Linked DNA regions of Homo sapiens: region 1 is linked to region 2. The links are contacts of gene promoters, found by promoter capture Hi-C in blood cells and fetal thymus (Javierre and others, 2016). All regions are on one chromosome and are shown on one strand. Each heading gives the region's core, a stretch centred on a gene start or on the middle of the fragment in contact. The rest is flanking DNA. Distances are from core to core; before and after follow the strand shown.

The links. The method cuts DNA at HindIII sites, captures the fragments that hold promoters and counts their contacts. A CHiCAGO score of 5 or more calls a contact.
Region 1: a fragment that was not itself captured here is called in contact with the fragment with the promoter of NECTIN4 in region 2 in 2 of 17 cell types (erythroblasts and activated CD4 T cells); the score reaches 5.4 in erythroblasts.

What each region holds. Positions count from the first base shown.
Region 1 is chr1:160,776,243-160,779,988 of GRCh38, reverse strand. LOC105371470 (a long non-coding RNA gene) reads left to right here. Exons shown (of 3, transcript NR_188636.1): 2 at 3,341-3,670. Among named protein-coding and RNA genes, the nearest start is that of LY9, 18 kb to the left of the region's middle. RefSeq lists enhancers at 2,137-2,206, 2,527-2,576. The HindIII fragment of the contact is 4,063 bases long and covers 1-3,746 here.
Region 2 is chr1:161,087,971-161,092,099 of GRCh38, reverse strand. It overlaps NECTIN4 (nectin cell adhesion molecule 4), which reads left to right and starts at 2,542. Exons shown (of 9, transcript NM_030916.3): 1 at 2,542-2,882. The coding sequence starts at 2,804. NECTIN4-AS1 (NECTIN4 antisense RNA 1) reads right to left here. Exons shown (of 4, transcript NR_183641.1): 4 at 1,368-4,129. The HindIII fragment of the contact is 2,777 bases long and covers 1,138-3,914 here.

The DNA.
Region 1 (3,746 bases), core at 477-2,976, 310 kb after region 2:
GAGTGTCATGAGTCCAGGTTTATCCCTGCGTGTAGATCAGCAACCTGAGCTGGGAGGATACAGGGCCCTACCGAGCCCATGTTAACCTGAGGATTTCCTGCAGCACCCTCACCTGGGAGTACCATCTGCAAGTCTATAGTGGGTGTCTTAGAGATGGCAGCAGTGGGTGAGGCAGTGTCAGCCTCTCAGTCATTTCTACAGCTTTAGTAACATTCGCAATTTGCAAGACTAATTTATGCGCACTGTTTTGTTTTTTGTTTTTAAAGATATGTAAGTTAGAGTTGCCAGAGAGAATCTCCTGAAAAATGTCAAGCCTCAGGACCTACCCTAGACCACCTGAAGCAGAGTTCTTGGGACAGTAGTGGTCAGAGAATGGGATTTCAGGCCCTGAGAACTGAGTTTTTCCACAACCTCCTCTTGTGGCCTGGAGCTTCCTCATTACTAAAATGGGAACAATACCTTTTTGTGAGAGTGAAAACATATGAAAGTGCTTTGGAAAGGCCTATGCAGATGCAGAGGGATGCTCTTATCAAATTCCTTAAAGAAATTTAAAAAATCTTAGCAGGAGAAACTACAAAGGAAGCAATGGGGTGGGTATCAAGCACACACAGCACCGAGAAAGGCCTATGAAAGATGCTACGCTGAGCCACTTTGAGATTCAGACAGTTGATTATTCATATAACGAATGGAAGAGTAGCCAAGGGTTCCAGATCCCTGGGCACTTGTCCCACACCAGAAAAGATGACATTGAAACAAAAGGGGCCAGATGGCTGCAGTGGGAGCTGTGGAATACCCAGATGCCGAGGGGCCAATTCTACCTTCAGCAAAGAGGACTTAGAGACCGCAGCTGTGTTCTGAGGACAAGAAGTCCCATACTGCATCAGAACCCCAGGAGCCAGGGGAAATAGTCTCATGACAGCCTCCCAGGGGAGATGGCTTCAAGGCTGTGCCTCACAGGCCACCTGAACTCTCGTGTTCTGGGTGGATCACAAGGCATTTTGCCAAGACCCAGTTTAGCAGAGGTTGAAACCTTTGCCTGAGAGAGATGTGCAAGGTCTCAGGGTGCTATGGCAGAGCCGTTCCCCTGCAATGAGCGAGGGGGACAGGTGGTGAGTGAGGATGGACATGGGAAGGCCAGCAGAGAACCTTCACAGACATTTTTCTTGGATTCTGTGATAGGAAATCTTCCTATTAGACGAAGGCACTCTTTTAGTGGAGTTGATGGGGCTGCTCTCTGGTCAGGTCCACATGGCTGGGGAGAAGGCGTGTCTGCCATAAATCAGGCCTGGGCTGGCTATGGCCTGCTTCTCACAACAGGACCAGGGCACAATGGAAGTGGGTTGCTGGGACTTGGGGTTGGGTTGCTCACTAGGGTAGGGTGGGCCCAAAACTGGTGGGAGAGGCCCTTTGGCCTCGCTGATAGTCATTCTGATAGCACTTACTTAGTGTGGTATGGTGTCAGGTGGAGTCTGGGTAGAGGATAGGGTTGTGCCAATCCATCAGGGGTGGGGTCTTCCAGAGAGCCCTTCTCTCTCTGGGTTGACATCCCAATGGCAAGGCAGTGCTAATGGTCAGGCTCCATCCTTCACAGGGTGTTTCCCATCACTGCAGCCTCACAACAGCCCTGCCAGTATGCAGGTCAGGAGTTTTCATTTCTAGGAAGGAAACGGAATCTTAGAAAGGGAAAATAAGACACCTATGACATGGAGCTAGAAAGTGGCAGATTTGGGAATCGAACTCAGGTATTCTGATGCTGTACCCTGTGCCTTCATTCTCTGGGTTTCTGGTATGTCGCCATATTTATTGGATGAGAAAAGGGCCAATAGAAGTCAAGTGGCTTGCATCCCAGGGCCTGATATATAGGAGACACAGTGGGGAGAGCCAGCAGCAAGGTACCCACCTGTGGGGATGTCCAGGCTGCCTTCTCCTGGGGGACACGCTGGGCCTGTGTGGTCCTACTTTGCACAGTTGAGTTTCCCCTGGGGCTGCAGTCGTGTGGGCCACAGGGCTGAGGCTGAGTAGCAGAGTAGCCTTGTTCTATGCAATATGACTTTGTTGAGTGTTTCAGGCCTGGTGTCTGCAGCTGCTCTTCTCGCCTCCCCCAAATCCTCCTGGGTCTGGCCTGGGAGGCTGGTGGACAAATAATGGCAATGTGGACACCTCGAGCACTTAAGAATATCTGGGTCATGGCCCTGGGGCAAGAGGAGACGGGGAGCAGGTCCAAGGGAGTGCAAGGGAGTGGGAGAAACCTCAAAGGCACACAGCCACCTCCTCTGGGACTCTTGATCAACACCTGGAAGCTCAGTGTATGCTGCAGAGCCCCCTACGGGGAAAATATGTAATTACAACACAGCTCCGTACTTGCATTCCTTTATCTATTCAGGGCAGGGTTGGGAAACTCAGTTTTGGGCTCAAATTCACTGGATTTGGATTTTGGCTTTACCACTTAACTAGATGAGACTTTGGGCAGGTTATCTAAGCATTCTGAGCCTGTGAAATGGAGTTGATATAACATCTTCCCTGTTTAGTTCATGGAGTTGTTCTGGAAATCAACTGAGATGTTAAGTGACATGGCCTTACATAGCACAAAGTTCTGGAACAGATGTGGGCAGATCCTGCCTCTGCTGTTCCTTCTGTGTATTCAAGGTGATGCAAGGTTTGGGCACTAATGCCGTGCATTTTCTGTCCTGTGAAGTGGAGGCCCAGAGCAGTTTCCCAGTCCTCAGTTTATTCCCTTTCGCACACACAGAGCAGCTGGCCTGGCCTCATGTCACACTGAGCTCCAGGATTAGTGAGGATGGATGCTGCATTGTCACTCTCATATGCCATTGACATGTGTGGCAGAGAGCAGAGGAGGCAGTGTGACTTACAGCTGGACACCCCTGGGACCCCAGACTGTTGTTGTGTCCTGTGGAGGGTCTGTCCTCAGTGTCTCCTTGAGGCTTGGGGACAGTGCTCTAACTTTTACCTGCATGGTCAAGAACCCATTCAGTAACAGCAGCTCCCACCCTATCTCAGTGCCTCACTTCTGCATATGTACCAGGCTCCTCAGTCTGCCCAGGGGCCTGAGCAGCTCTGGGGTTGACAGGGAGGGTGGAAGAAGAAGTCCTGGTTCCCTTCAGACCCTGGGGCAAGGGGGCTAACACCATTGGGAGGGTGGGAGTCTGGGGTGGGTGGGTGTTGGTCTGTGTGGTCATGGCAGTGGGAGGAGAAGACCCACTGGAGCTGGTGGGGAGGCTGGAGGGACTCACACAGGAGGAGCTGGATGGAGCCTGTGGCTTTCCTGACTAGGTGGGGAGACACTGACACTGAGGTTGTGGGTTCTCTTCTTTGTCTACAGGGTCAGGAACACTGGGAGAAGATACAGTGGGGAAGATATCCTTGGGGAGTTGGCCACTTGGCCCCTGGAGGTCCCAGCAGAGCAAGAGGTAGAAAGTGTTACATGGAGCTCTTGAGAGCGTGTTGCTGTTTTACAACAAGGATGAACAGACAAACCAGTTCTGGTTTCTGAGACTCAGGGACCCTACAGTGGATGACTGAACATTCCCCACCACAGCTACTCTCTTCAGATCAGCCCCCTGAGGCTGCAGGACTATAAGCCTATAAGCCTGGGTAACTCTGCATACTTCCTCAATCATTATCACCAGGGATTTCACCCTGCTTGTCTATGGTAAGGAGGGCTGGAGGGCCCCACATTTGAAACTGAGCTTTCCTCTACCCTGTTTGGCCAGACCAGAGCCTTCTCA
Region 2 (4,129 bases), core at 1,293-3,792:
CCTAAGTTTGAGGGCATATTCTCCAAAAGCATGGCTCTTGTGAGACATACAGGGCTGAGGGGAAGGAGGGGACAGAGGGACTTGAGATAGGTATTTGTGAAATGAGGAGAGAGATCCCTAACTCTGTCAAAGGCCTGGAGTGGGCTGCTGGACTCTAGTGCTCCCTCTCAGGCCCTGTGGTGCCCTTAGCCTACTTCAAGGCTGCATCATACCCATGAAAAAATGAGTATAGCCATACCCTAACTCCACCTCTGGACAGTTCTGCCTCCTTTCCATGCTCCGTATGGCTAGAGTTCAGGGTGAGTGATTAAGGGGCCCAACCAGGGGTTCAGAGACATCCTGACTGGTAGCACTTTCACGGGGTATACTGTGAATGGATAGGCTGAAGGAGATTGGATATCCATCTTGTGAACTAACTGCTTTTCCACTCCTGTGCCTCAGTTTCTCCTGTGGCTTCCTGTACCTGGAGGGGTGAATCCGTGGGAAGGAAAGCAGCTCCTCCGAAAGCATGCGATAGGATCCAAGGTGTGATAATTATAATTATAACACAGGATGCTCCCCCTCCCATTCCCGCTGGCCCTACTCCACCCCTGCCACAGAGGATCTCAAAGCAGCATCTGGGTGGGGCTGTTCCCCTGGCACAGGTGGGGACCTGAAAAAGAGAAGGGGTTGGAGGTGGAGAGAAACTGGGGAATTCTGGCAACCGGCCTGGCCTTTAAGGGCCTCTGACCTGCAGGAAATAGCCCCTGAAGAAGAGGTCACTGCCGTGGTCATTTGGCATCTAGAGCCAGAGTTGGGGTCATAGTCCAGTGACAGGAGTAAAGTCCAGGTCACAACCCTAGTTCAGGATAGTAACTCACAGCCAGTCGGGATCTCTGCTTTACTGATCCGACTTCACCATCCTTTTCATCCGGACAACTCATTTATTCAGAAATTCATGGCTTCACCAAAATGTAGTCAGTTCCCATGAAATGCTGTGGCCTGTCCTAGCATGGAAGACTGAGACAAGATTATAAAACAAGCCCAACTTTCAAGGAGTTCACAGGCTACAACTCTTGTCCTGTCCCGCAATTTAATACATTTACTGAATTCCTGGCACACAGCAGGCCTCAATCGATGTTTTTTTGACTTGAAGCTTACAATTTAGTTAAGGAGATAAGATGTGCACAAATTATGAGCACATAAGCTATAATAAAAGGACTAGCAAAGGCTGAGGAAGAATAGAAGAAAGATTAATTTGGGGTGGGAGGAGCAGAGAAGGCTTCACGAAGATGTGGCATTTGAGGTCAGCTTTGAAAGATGAATAAGAGTTTGACAGGTAGAGTTGGTGGGGATGGTGGTGGTAGAAAATCTACACAGAACAACTCTTCCTTATGGCTTCTTTATTCCTCCTTTCTGCCTTCTCCAGATGGAAGGGTCCTATGGCAAAACTTTAACCTATATTTTTTTCTTCTCCCACGTCTATCTCTGTATTTACCTGGTTTTTGTATTAGCCCTAGACTGCAAGTGATGTTGTCCCTCCCGTTCACTAAATTTTCAGTGGGCTCAGAATATGCCCTCTTCCTCTGGCTATCCCAGGGAGGCCAGGAAGGTTTTGTGTAATTTGGCGGTCACTTTTTATGCATTCAGAATGGAAACACATGGTCTGACAAGGATGTACTTATAGGAATACAGGGCTAGAGTACTTGAAATTAAGATTCTCCTTGCAAAGTCCAGACATGTGGTCTTGTCCAATGACCTTGGAGTAAACTGGGTAAAATGGCCATGGAGAGGGTAGAGAGGAACCTCTCTCCATTCAAGTTGTGCTGCTGCGCTTTTGGGACTCCTGGCCAGGTAACAAGGTGTTGAAGCTGAGAGAGGGCCCTGATAGGGAAACCAGGAACCCCTACGGCTAATTCCTTGGCCACTTCCTTGGCCTCTTATATATGGAGGTGGAGTTAGAGGAGTTACGTAAGTTCTTTCTCAGGGGTCTTTGAACTACTTCCCTACTTCAGGGATAGAGGTGTCTGAGCAAACCATGAGACTAAGTTGTGTGTCCTCTGGCAAGTCCCTCCCCTTCTCTGGGCCTTGGTTTTCTCTTCTGAAGAATGAAGTATACAGCGCAGCACTGACAGACTCCTTCCTCCTCAGTTCTGGCCTTCTCCGATTCTGTGGCTCCAAAGCTGAGACCCTCCAGGAGATCCGGGAACTTGTCAAGGCCCCCAGGAGGTACCAAGGCTAGCTGGGGTGTGGGACGCTTGGGTTCCTTTCTACCCACAAGGGCCTTGCCCCTTTCATCCTGGCCTGGCCTGGTGCCCTGGGCCTCCCTTAGTCCCCACCCTTGCCTCTCCCTTCATAGCCCCTTCCACATACTCGCAGGTAAAGCCTGGAGCTGAGGATGGGACCCCACCGCCCCCACCCAGGTCCTTCCCTCCTTCCCTCCCTCCCTGGCGCCTATTAGCTAGCCCAGGCCATGGGGGCGGTGGCTGCTGAGTCTCCGTGCCAGGCCCAGCCCCCAGAGACGCACCTGTTCTGACCTGCTGAGCAGGTTCCCAGGTTTCTGCCGTCGTTGTTGGCCACAGCGTGGGAAGCAGCTCTGGGGGAGCTCGGAGCTCCCGATCACGGCTTCTTGGGGGTAGCTACGGCTGGGTGTGTAGAACGGGGCCGGGGCTGGGGCTGGGTCCCCTAGTGGAGACCCAAGTGCGAGAGGCAAGAACTCTGCAGCTTCCTGCCTTCTGGGTCAGTTCCTTATTCAAGTCTGCAGCCGGCTCCCAGGGAGATCTCGGTGGAACTTCAGAAACGCTGGGCAGTCTGCCTTTCAACCATGCCCCTGTCCCTGGGAGCCGAGATGTGGGGGCCTGAGGCCTGGCTGCTGCTGCTGCTACTGCTGGCATCATTTACAGGTAGGACTTGCCTGAACCATCAGGACACTTGCTTCTGAGCCCAACCTGGCACTGACACACATGCACAAACACATAGACACACACGCACGCACACACATATCCTCCTTTCTTTGACTCTGAACTGAGGATCCAGTCTCTCCTGCCCCCAGCTTCCAGCAGTGCCCCCAGAAAAGCCAGTATAGCCCTCCCCCTTCTTGTTTCCTCCCAGCCCCCAGGCCAGGTCACTATGTCTGGGATCCCTGACACCTCTGCCAAAGCCTTGCCTAGGCCTGAGCTGTCTTGGGGAATAGACGTGGTGACCCAGTGTAGATGGGCAGGCAGGTGGGACTTGTGAGGATCCTGTTCACCCCAGGGTTTCCTAGAGGTGCCTTGGCCTACCCCCTGGGCTCTGGAACGGCTGCCTGGAACTGGGGCTGACTCAGAGCTCAGCTGGTTTCTGCAGTCATCAGGGTGCAGGAAGCCTGATGCCCAGAGAGTGGATGGGGGATTTCTATTTCCTTCTTTTCTCTCCATGATGTTCTAGAGCACCAGGACTGGGGCACCTGTTGGGGACTATAGGAGAGCTGAGAATGCCCGTCACTCTGACCCCTTCCTTTCCCTGGGCACAATATTAGGTGCCAGGGTGGTAATAAGGGGGTTTAGATGGATGGGGGTCTAAGGAAGGGAACCTTCTAGATAGGGTGTGGTCCCCATTTGTTCATCTCCTGTTCCCCCATTTTCTTAACTAGATGCCTTGTATTACTTCTCACCTCCTGTCTGTCTAATGCATATAGAGCAAATATGAATTATAGGAATGTATAATCTTCAGAGTAGAGGAGAGTGTGTGTGCGTGTGTGTGCACAGTGAGACCTCAGTGGGATTCCATAGGGTGTTCCTAGGGTAATGAGTAACAGAAATATTTCTCCTTCAAAAGATAGGGCCTGATCTGGACAGGACAGTTTGATTCTCAGGCCCAGGAGCAGTAGCAAGGGAGCCTCTGTTGCCCAGCAAGATCTGGCAGTGATTCCCCTACCTCCATCTCCAGCCAAAGCTTTGAGGAGGGAAATAAGGCCTAGATGTGTGGATTGGTGGAGGTATGGGCTGCTCCAACTCTGATTTTATTATAGGTCATGGGCCCAGCCTCCAGTCGTAGGATACTGAGCTCCTACCCCTGCCATCCCCTCACAGTCCCCTACCACCTGTGTTTTAATTCCCATCTTCCAGATAATCCTTCTCACTTGTTTAGGCCAAAAAGGTGGAGCCTAGTT